Linked DNA regions of Homo sapiens: region 1 is linked to region 2. The links are contacts of gene promoters, found by promoter capture Hi-C in blood cells and fetal thymus (Javierre and others, 2016). All regions are on one chromosome and are shown on one strand. Each heading gives the region's core, a stretch centred on a gene start or on the middle of the fragment in contact. The rest is flanking DNA. Distances are from core to core; before and after follow the strand shown. Region 1 has its middle 48 kb from the start of PIRT. Region 2 holds the start of DNAH9 (dynein axonemal heavy chain 9).

The links. Contacts are between HindIII fragments. The CHiCAGO score rates a contact against its expected background, and 5 or more counts as called.
Region 1: a fragment that was not itself captured here is called in contact with the fragment with the promoter of DNAH9 in region 2 in 5 of 17 cell types (M2 macrophages, M0 macrophages, endothelial precursors and 2 more); the score reaches 10.1 in M2 macrophages.

The regions. Positions count from the first base shown.
Region 1 is chr17:10,883,130-10,889,133 of GRCh38, forward strand. No RefSeq gene overlaps it. Among named protein-coding and RNA genes, the nearest start is that of PIRT, 48 kb to the left of the region's middle. The HindIII fragment of the contact is 8,278 bases long and covers 1-5,439 here.
Region 2 is chr17:11,595,423-11,601,079 of GRCh38, forward strand. DNAH9 (dynein axonemal heavy chain 9) reads left to right here and starts at 3,048. Exons shown (of 69, transcript NM_001372.4): 1 at 3,048-3,493. The coding sequence starts at 3,077. The HindIII fragment of the contact is 5,374 bases long and covers 1-4,211 here.

The DNA of each region.
Region 1 (6,004 bases), core at 51-2,550, 710 kb before region 2:
CTAGGTGAGAATTAGGGAGTGAGGAAAAAAGGAGCTGGAGTATGTTCTGGGGAGTAATGGTAACAGCACCTACTTGAATGGAAGCTGGATAAGAAGAGTGAGGCAATGGAGGAGTTGAGGGACAGTACAACCATGTATTGATCATATATTTAGATATAATCATGTATTTAGTTTATAGAGGGGTCAATAATTTTTGGAATTGGCAAACTGAAAATGAGAAGTGGTGGTTGGAAAGTAGGATTCTTAGAATTGAGATAACAGAGTGCAGTTACTTGTGTAAAAAGGTCTAGGGCATGACTATAAGGGAGAGTGGATGAGTTAGGATGGAGGAAAACAATCCCCAGAAAAGAGGAGGTCATGGAATGGGCAGTCCAGGGCTTTGCAGGGATTTCTCTATGGAAAGCAAAATCACTGAGAATCACAGCTGAGGTAGTATGGGAGAGGGTGACCATGACCCAGGTGCCGGGATCTTGTAGAAATGAGGGGAATGACACAGGGCTCAATAGTTGACTATGACAAGGAGGGTAGTGGGTTGTTCGGTATGGCCGCATGACCCTTAAAACCGGGAGTGTTGGGGGCAGTGGTATGGAAGATCAGTAACGGGCAAAAAGGAGTAATGGGCAAAAAGGAGCCCTGCCTCACCTCCAGGCCCAGTGGAACAAGGGGTATGGGAATGAAAAAATCAGCTGCCTTTTCAGAGGACAGCAGGGGAAATGGTGTCTTTGCGGGGAGCTTTGAGATTTTCTTAGGGGCTAGTTCTGGAACCCAGTGGATGCGGAGCCCTCCTAATGCTTCCTCCCTGTTGTTGCCTCTGTTGCTGCTTCCTGGAGTTGTGTCTTTGACCACAGACCATTCTGTACTACTGTATATCACAGTGGTTACATACACAGGGTTTGGGCTCCAACTGTCTCGATTCAAGTCCTGTGTTTCTAATGCACTACTTCTCAATTCTGTGATCTTGGGTTAATTAATCGACCTCTTTGTGCTTCTGTTTCCTCATCAAAAGATAGAATGGTAATGGGCTTACGGAATTGTTGTGAAGTTCAGGCAATAGATATAGGAGCTGTGCTTGCACTAGACTTGGGACAGTGGTTGCACATATAAATGTTTGCTATTAATATAATTATTTTTCCATCACATTCTGCTCTTGATGGCCCCCTTATTCGGTGAGGGCAGAAAGGTAAGGGGAATGTTTACAGTTGCAATCGAAGATAAAGAGATTTTGCTGATAATAGATCATGCATTCCAGTGACCCAGTGGGTGGGTTTGGGAAGTTGGGGGTAGTCAGATTATGGGGTTCACAGAGGTTTAGGGGATGAAAGGCAGGGTACTGAGGGATGAGTTTAGGGAGTCCTGCTGTCAGAATGGCAGGGCTGGGTGAAGGGTGATCTTGCCTGGACAGTGCAGAACTCAGGGGCCTCCTCTTGACTTTGACTTCCACTGATGAACATGGTCAGTGTGGTTCACTGGCATATCCCTGGGGTCTAGCCAAGCTCTTGCTGCATCCTTGCCAAATAAACAAAAGATGCTTCTGAGGAGGCACATGCTGTTATGAGTTTTCCTATCGGCTCTGCTTCTTCTAACACCTCACACTACCCTTTTGGAAATCTGTCTAAGCTCTTGGTCAGATTCCCTCTGAATTTCACCGAGCATGTTGACACACCTCTGTACCTGTGATTGTCTTGCCTGTAAATAGTTGTACTTGCAGTTCACCTCACCCAGAGCTGAGATAAAAGGTGTCACATAATGTTCCCAGAGTCCTGTCTCATATTGCCCGAGCAGATGCTACTGTTGCAGTGATAACCAAAAATGTTAAAATTGAGACCACAAGGACTTGTTGAGCATTGTAGTTTTCTGACAGGACAGATAGTTCCTTTCTTCCTTGGCTCAATGCTTGAGACTTCATCAGACACAGAACTTTCCTGCCGCTGTGCCCCACAGCTGCCCATCCTCACCTGCTCAGGGCTGTCTGCTCTTAGATTATGGGCTGTGCTGTTCAGCTCTCTGGTGAGCTAATTCAAGACCTGGATCCTAGGGTCTGTTGCAGATGGTCATACAGGAGTCACAGACTGGATAGAAAATTACCCACAGGCATATGCTGTTTGGATCACATAGTGTTTTGCAAATCAGGAAATTTCATGCAAAATTACAGATTAATGACTTTTTTTTTTTTTTTTTTTTTTTTTTGTGGGCAGAGGAATATAAAAAGACCCAGGCACAGGAACTCTGACATTCTACATAGCAACCATTGGCTAGAGTTGAGTCATGGCGCCCCCTGCAGATGGAGTACATACTTTAAGTCATTACATATCCCTCCAAGTAAGCCTCTTGGGACTACCAATTTTTTTTTTTTTTTTTTTTTTTTTTTGAGACGGAATTTCACTCTTGTTGCCCAGGCCAGAGTGCAATGGTGTGATCTCGGCTCACTGCAACCTCTGCCTCCCAGGTTCAAGTGATTCTTCTGTCTCAGCCTCCTAAGTAGCTGGGATTACTGGCACCCACCACCACGCCCAGCTAATTTTTTGTATTTTTAGATAGGGTTTCACCATGTTGGCCACGCTGGTCTTGAACTCCTGACCTCAGGCGATCTGCCCGCCTCAGCCTCCCAAAGTGCTGGGATTACAGGCACTCAGCCCAATTTTTTTTTAGGTGCCAAAATAAATGCGAGATTCTATTTTCTGCTTAGGAACACCCGTAGGTGGTTATGTATTTCTTTTTCAACTTTTATTTTAGAATCAGGGGGTACATGTTCAGGTTTGTTACTTGGACATGTTGCATGATGTTAAGGTTTAGGTATGATTGATCCCATCATGCAGATAGTGAACATAGTAGCCAATAGGTAGTTTTTCAATCTTTGCCTCCCTCTCTTTCCCCTCTAGTGGTTCCCAGTGTTTATTGTTCCCTTCTTTATGTCCATGAATACCCATTGTTTAGTTCCCATGCAGTATTTGTTTTTCTGTTCCTTCATTAATTCGCTTAGGATAACAGCCTCCAGTTGCATCCATGTTGCTTCAAAGGACATGGTTTTGTTCTTTTTTATGGCTGCATAGCATTCCATGATGTATATGTATCACATTTTATTTATCCAAACTGTCACTGATGAGCACTGGTGTTGATTCCCTGTCTTTGCTATTGTGAATAGTGCTGTGATGAACATACACGTGCATGTGTCACCCATCCAAGTACTAACCAGGCCTGACCCTGCTTAGCTTCTGAGATCAGATGAGATCAGGCATGTTCAGGATGGTATGTCCTTGTGTCTTTTTGGTAGAATGATTTATTTCTTTTGAATATACATCCAGTAATGGTATTACTAGGTCAAATGGTAGTTCTGTTTTAAGTTCTTTGAGAAGTCTGCAAACTGCTTTCCACAGTGGCTGAACTAATTTACATTCCCACCAACAATGTATAAGCATTTTCCTTTCTCCACAGCCTCTCCAGCATCTGCTGTTTGTTGACTTTTTAATAATGGCCGTTCTGACTCATGTGAGATGCTATCTCATTGTGGTTTTGACTTGCATTAATCTGTTGATTAATGATAATGAGCATTTTTCCATATGTTTGTTGGCTGCTTGTATGTCTTCTTTTGAGAAGTGTCTGTCCATGTCCTTTGCCCACTTTTTAAGGATGTTATTTGTTTTTTGCTTGTTGATTTATTTAAGTTACTTATAGGTTCTGGATATTTGACCTTTGTTGGATGCATAGTTTGTAAGTATTTTCTCCCATTGCGTAGGTTGTCTGTTTACTCTGTTGGTAATTTCTTTTGCTGTGTAGTTCTTTAGTTTCATTAGGTCCCAATTGTCAATTTTTGTTTTTGTTGCAATTGTTTTTGAGGACTTATTCATAAATTATTTCCCAAGGCTAATGTCCAGAATGGTGTTTCCTAGGTTTTCTTCTAGGATTCTTACAGTTCGAGGTCTTACCTTTAAGTCTTTAGTCCATCTTGAGTTAATTTTTGCATGTGGTGAAAGGTAGAGGTCCAGTTTCATTCTTCTGCATATGGCTAGCCAGTTATCCCAGCACCATTTATTGAATAGGGAGTCCCTTCCCCATTGCTTATTTTTCTAAACTTTGTCAAAGATCAGATGGTTGTAGGTGTGCAGCTTTATTTCTGAGTTCTCTATTCTGTTCCATTGGTCTATGTGTCTATTTTTGTACCCGTATCATGCTGTTTTGATTACTGTTGCCTTATAGTATAGTTTGAAGTTGGGTAGCGTGATGCCTCCAGCTTTGTTCTTTTTGATTAGCATTTCCTTGGCTGTTTGGGCTCTGTTTTGGTTCCAGATGAAGTTTAGAATTTTTTTGTGCTAATTCTGTAAAAAATGACATCAGTCACTTGATAGGAATAGCACTGAATATGTAGATTGCTTGGGGCAGTATGGTCAGGCTCTTTTTTGGTTTCTTGTGAATTTTAGAATAGTTTTTTCTAATTCTGTGAAAAATGACTTTGACAGTTTGGAATAGTGTTGGACCTGTAAATTGCTTTGGGCGGTATGGTCATTTTAATGATGTTGATTCTTCCAATCCATTAGCTTGGGATGTTTTTACATTTATTTGTGTAGTCTGTGATTTCTTTTGGCAGTGTTTTGTAAGTCTCTTTGTAGAGATTTTTCACCTCTTTAGTTGACTATATTCCTAAGTATTTTATTCTTTTGTGGCTTTTGTAAGTGGGAATGTGTTCTTGATTTGGCTCTCAGCTTGAATGTTATTGGTGTATAGAAATGCTACTGATTTTTGTACATTGATTTTGCATCCTGAAACTTTACCAAAGTCATTTATGAGCTCTAGGGCCTTTTGGCACAGTCTTTAGGGTTTTCTAGGCATAGAATCATATCATCAGCAAAGATAGCTTGACTTCTTCTTTTCCTATTTGAATGCCTTTTATTTATTTCTCTTGCCTGATTTCTCTGGCTAGGACTTCCAGTGCTATGTTAAATGGGGATGGTGGGGACTCTTAATTTCTATATTATGGGTCTGCTTCTCGTAGGCATTGGAACTTATAACTCAAGCCAACCAACTAAGATAAAGGAATATTAGAGGGCATGTGCAGAGGATAAATAATCTGTGAACGATTAATGACTGCATGAAATATCGATGGGTGAGCCAGTGAACAGCACTCAAACTCACCTGAGTATTTGTGAGAGTAAACAGCTTACATAATCTCAAAAAAAAAAAAAAGGCAAAGAGCTAACTAACTGACACATTCTGCTCTTCCTGAAAATTTTAAACTTAAATCAGAAGCATGGAAAACTATTGCTTAAATCTTTACCTTATACCATGGTTAACAAAGTATAAAACGCCCGATTCTTTCCCAGGATAGTGGAGAGTTTCACAGTTCCCTTTTTTCTTTCATGCTGTAGCAACACCAATTATCACCTGCTGGACTCTTAATGGGGTGTGTGTGTGTGTGTGTGTGTGTGTGTGTGTGTGGTCACCGGAAGCTTTTGAAACAGGTAGTGGGGTATTGAATGTTTTTTTGCCATAGCAGTGTAAAAACAGAACAGCCACATGATGGAGGTTGTTTATTTATTTTTCTCAAGAACAACTTACCTTCTGACTAGCTGTGATCTTCAAGTGAGTTATTTAACTGCTCTGAGCCTCAGTTTTTATCTCTATAAATCTGAGAGTAATGGTTTTATCTCTCAGTGTTTTTGTGAGGATTAAATCATATGCTCTCTGTGAGTGCCCAGCGTAGACCCTCCATCGGAAAGGTTTCCAGTGAGTCTTTCTGTTCAGGACATTCATAACAAAAGCCTCCGAGCAGAGAACGAGCCCCTGGGGAGTGCCCACACAGTCAACCCCAACAGCCCAGTCTCTGAACCGTAGCCTCAGGAATGGGGATGCTGAGGTTCTGCCTTCTGGCAGTGGCACAAACAGACCCTCCAGAGACAGCGGCTGTGCACCTGTTGATTTGGGTTAACTACCCTGGGGGATTTCTCTTCCTCCAAGAATAAGAAGTATCACACTGCTGCTCAGGGTGTTAATTTCTGCCAGGGAATAAGTG
Region 2 (5,657 bases), core at 1,798-4,297:
AAAGATTTTCAATGTAACATTTGTCAAGGAAGAAAAGAAAGAGCTGTTAGATTCTGTAAATATAATGTCAACTGCTAATTTATGAATGGTTTTGAAAGGCTTTAACTTTCATATTACTTGCTTGTGGGAACAAATTTCTCATCACGAGCGACTATCCAGAATTTAAAGAGATCATGACCAAAAGTCTCAAACAGGAATTGTGCATAGTCATTTAAAACAAAAAATATGATTACTACAAATATTACGCTCATGGGACTGAGTTCAAGTTTCCAATTTAAAAAATGGAAATTATTTTAGCTGAACATCTTATGCAAATTCATTCTTTCCCTTACTTTTTGTGGTAGCCTGCCTCCAAGATGGTACCCAGTGATTCTTGTCTCCTGGTATTCACATCCTCATGTAATTCCCTCTCATATTGAATAGGGAAGACTTCTGTAACTAATAAGATAATTGCAGAAATGACAGTGTGTGATTTCCAAGGCTAGTCATAAGAGACACTGTAGGCTTCTGCCTTGCTCTCTCTTAGATCACTTCTTCCGGGGGAAGACAGTCACAGCATTACAAAGACACTCAGATACCCAATGGGGGCTCCACATGCTAAGAAGTTGAAGTCTACTGCCAAGAGCCAGCACTAACCAACTAGCCATGTGAGTAAGCCATCTTGGAAGTGTCTCCTCCAGCCCCAGTCAAGCCTTCAGATGATGTAGCCCCTGATGACATCTTGCCTGCAACATCATGAGAAACCTTGTGCAATAACTACGAGCTAAGCAGCTCCTAAATTCCTGACCCCCCCATAAACTGTGTGAGATAAATGTCTATTGCTATTTTAAGCTGATAAGTTTGGGGGTAATTTGTTATACAGTGATAGATAACTAATATATTTTGGGGATATTTTTGTCATAATTATACAATATTTTAAAATGTCAGTTGTTTTCAATAATCCCATATCAATGCCTCCCACCAATCACCTTCTAAAATGCAGATAAGGTATCTTTTTGGAGAGAAAATTAAAAACTGGGATTGCTAATATTCAGGAGCCTTCACCTTACACAGAAATCTTTAAGTCATATTCACAGACTCCTTTGTTCCTATTTTTATGTATGTTGGGGCAAGGGGACATAGGAGATTAACGGCATAATAGAGCCACAGTGCGGTGGCAGAAATTTTATTTCAAGGGTTTACTGAAAGTTAATGGTCCTGAAGTCACTCTGTATACGAAACATGAGCATAGTTGACACATTTGAAGTCCCTAAGCACTAAAACAATAACGATGCCTTCCTATGTGCAAAGATAAACAAAAAACGATATGTGTAAGAAGCCCCTGACATTACTATTTTTCCCTGATGCTTCTTCTTGAAATGTCAGTTACCAAATTCATCCTAAAGATTGTTTTAGTTTCCCACTTTTTCCCTTTCCTCATAGTTGGTTGATTATTGTTTAATCCAGCAATGATGAAACACCCTTTACAAACATAAAGATTCATTTCTAACATGAACATTTTTTATTACAGCAACTCCTTTGCTCCAGTTATTATGAAATCAATCATTTTACTTCCCAACCACTGGTGTTTTCCCGAGGGGCTCTTGTTAGCCAAGCTACCATTGATAAGTGCTTATTCTGTTAATATTCCTTTGAAACCCATTATAAACATTCCTTTTACCCAGAAACTCAGCAGTCCCTGGGAGGTGACTAAAGGGAGGATGGCAGGGCAGAGGGGAGCTCATTCAGTCCTGCAGACCTCATGCTGCCCAAGTTGTTTGTCCATTTTTTCAGCACCCATGCACTGTCACCTTACATGCATGCAAAGGGCCAAGCTGTTTATCCTGACCATGGAGAAGGACTAAGCAGGTAACAAATGCTAATTTCTGAGGTCAGGCAAGGCACTTTATATTATCCCTTTTTGAAGCCAATATCCAGGTATAGGGCAGGATGGGAAGGTTCTGAGCATCCTGCATATTTACAAGTACTTTGCTACATTTAGTAAGAACTGATTAGTGGTCATACCCATGGAAGTCAAAAACTCTAGCATGGTGGCTCATCCTTATAATCCCAGCACTTTGGGAGGCTGAGGCAGAAGGATCAGTTGAGTCCAGGACTTCAAGACCAGTTTGGACAACACAGCGAGACCTCATCTCTACAAAAAATTTTTAAAATTAGCTGGATGTGGTGGCGCCTGTATTCCCAGCTCCTAGGGAATCTGAGACCAGAGGATCAGTTGAGCCCAGGGATTTGAGGCTGCGGTGAACTATGATCCGGCCACTGCACTCCAGTCTGGGCAACAGAGTAAGACTCTGTCTCAAAAACAAGCCTCTTACAGTTTGGTTACATTTTTAGAAGATTAAGCACATGCCTTAAAAAACATGGGCAAAGAAAGGCACGGAAGAAAACTTAAAAAAACTTGATATTAAAATTTTGAAGCTGAGCTGTTCGATATAACTACAGTCACATGTGACTATTTAATTTTAAGTGAAAATTAAGTAAAATTAAAAATTTCCTCAGTGGGACGAGCATATTTCACCTCCTTTATAGGCCATGCGTGGCTAGAACAGATGGAAAACATTTCCATCATCGCAGAAAGTTCTACTGGACAGCACTGTTCTGAAGTGTTTAATTTGCCATCATGGAAAAGAAATAAAATTCACTGAATGTCCTTAAATCTGTTTTATGATTTGGCATTGTGTTTAAGTCTGGATTGCACATTTAGGATAGAGGTAAGAGGACCACACTATTTTCAGTGTCTGGAGACCTCTAAAGACTCTAATTCGACCTTGGCCAAAACGATCCTTAACAGCATTTATATGCTTGATCTCCTCTCCACGCAGCCCATCAATAAGCCATTGCGCTCCACGGTCACACTTCAGCACTCCCAATACACCAGGCAGACACTGAGTACGAGTCTCGGCTGGTGTCCTAGCAACAGCGACGCGACCCCGCCCCTTCCCGCGTACACCTCCTACCTTATTAGCCTGGAAGGGGCGGGACCAGGGGTCCGTGCCCAATAGGAAGGGAGCAGAGGAGTGAGTCCTGGCCGCGTCCCCGTCGCTAGGGAAACCGATGCAGCTGGAGGCCGCGCGCGATGCGGCTCGCGGAGGAGCGGGCCGCGCTCGCGGCGGAGAACGCGGATGGGGAACCCGGCGCCGACCGACGACTGCGACTCCTGGGGACCTACGTGGCCATGAGCCTGCGGCCGGCTGCGGGCGCCTGGGAGCGTTGCGCGGGGAGTGCTGAGGCGGAGCAGCTGCTCCAGGCCTTCCTGGGCCGCGATGCTGCCGAGGGGCCGCGGCCGCTGCTGGTGGTGCGGCCCGGGCCCAGGGGCCTGGCAATACGCCCCGGGCTGGAGGTGGGACCTGAGTCGGGCCTGGCTGGCGCTAAGGCGCTTTTTTTCCTTCGCACCGGGCCCGAGCCTCCAGGGCCCGACAGCTTCCGCGGCGCAGTGGTCTGCGGGGACCTGCCCGCGGCACCTCTGGAGCACCTAGCCGCGCTGTTCTCGGAGGTGAGGGTGGGTTAGTGTCCCCGCGCGGCTAAAGCTGGGTGGGGGAGGGGAGGAGGAGCCTTAAGGGACGGAGGCGGGGCCAGAGGGGGCGGGGCGAAGCTGCAGGGGAGGTCCAAGAGGCGGAGTGATAGGCAGAGGGGCGAGGCTGTGGAGGGAGCACAACCAGGAGGGAAGTTCCTGAAGTCAGGAAGAAAATGGGATGGGGTTAGGGGCGGAGTCGGGTGGGTCCGGAGGGAGGGATCTGGGTGGAGGCCAGGCCAGAATGAGAATGGGAAGGAGCTGAGGCTTGGGTCAGTCCGGGTCTGGGTTCCAGCCAAAGTCAGGGGAAGACCATAATCTGAAGAGTGCCTAGGTTCTGACTACTTTCAAAATCAGCCTCTCGTAATCCCTCCTGTAAATTGGAAAGATCTGAAGAAGATGGGAAGTGGACAAGACGGCATTTCTGATGGATCAGTGGGGTGGAAGGAGGTGGATGGCTATAAACAGTGCCTACTTCTGGAGAGCAGTTAAATGGGAGGGGGAGGTGGGTAGTGATTTGCTTTTGATTTTCATCTCATTCATTCATTACCAACCATTTAGCAAAGGTCAGCCCTGTGCCAGCATAAGAAGTTGGGCTCCCATTTGGAAATGCCCAGCAGGCCTTTGGAGGAGTCTGCCTGAAGCTCAGGGAGGAAGGTGGAGATGTGGGTCATGAGTGCTTTAGTGGCACCACAGCAGAAGCTTCGAGAATGCAGGAGATTTCAGGGAAGTGCTCCAGAGAGATTCCTGGGCCCCTTAGACCTTTCTGGAATGGGAGTAAACTGCCCTGCAAGTCAGGCTGTGTGCTTATGGAGGCTTGATGCCCTGGACCCTGCAGGTTGTGAAATAAGGATGGGCAGAATACTGGCTGTATGATGGTTCAGGTGATAGGTGCTATAGGGAATACCAAAGAACTATTCCCACCCATGAAATGCTTACTCCAAGGAGCTGAAACGTATGTAATAATTCATATATTCAAAATGTTTCAAACTTTTAAGACTGGGGTGAGGGTAAAGCTTACCTAAAAGTTGGCCCCACTGCTGGATGCAAGTCCTGGAGTCTCCCTGCTATGTCAAGTGTAAGCCCTTTAGATGGTGTATCAGGAGGCTGTGGGGAGGTGAAAATTCCAGGGAAAGGGTTGGATAGATAGAGGAGGACACAGAGGGCCCAGGAAGCTAGATCTCTTAGATATGGAGGTATTTCAATATTTTAACAAACAGAATGGTCTTGCAACTGTGCATTGTCTGAAAGCCATCCCGCTGAAGCCTGAACTTAGATCAGCTTCTCTAATGAATGTTGACGATAGAAAGTACTTTTGGCTTCAGAGGAGAAAGACAGGCCTGTGATCTGAGAAGCATGCTTAACATAAGTGTTGAATTGTCTCCTGAACAATTAGAAGAATTTGTATAAGTAGAGAGCAAGGTAACTTTCAAGATACTGAGAGCAGACTGATCAAAGGTTCAGAGACAGGATTTAACCTAGTGTATGTGGGAGACAGAAGGCCCATCTCAGAGTTGTGTCATGGCCAAGCAAAGTAGTCCAGCAAGAAAAATAATTTTAAAATAATGAAAATTCTCGAATGTTTAAGAATTTTCATTGGTGCATTGAAAGAGATTGGAGACAAACAATGTTCATCAACAGGGGACTGGGTGACTGAATTATGGGCCATCTATACAGTGAAATACTTTGCAACTATTAAAAAGAATGACTGATATGGAATATTCCTTTTTTTGAGGCAGGGTCTTGCTATGTTGACCAGGCTGGTTTCAAACTCCTAGACTCAAGTGATCCTCCTGCCTTGGCCTCCCAAAGTGCTGGGATTACAGGTGTGAGCCACCATGTCCAACCGGAGTTATTCCTTAGGGTAATTTTTTCCTTGTGGCAAAAAAAACACATGACGTAAAATTCACCCAACAATTTCCAAGTGTAGAGTACAATATTGTCAACCACATATGCATTATTGTGCAACACATCCTCAGAACTGCCCCGTCCAGCATCACTGAAACTCCACACACACCCAGCAAGCCACACATCGCTCCCCTGAGCTCCTGGCTAGCACCATTCTACTTTCTGTTCCTATGAACCTGACTCATCATATAAGTGGAATCATGCAGTATTTGTTCCTTCTGACTGACTTATGTCACTT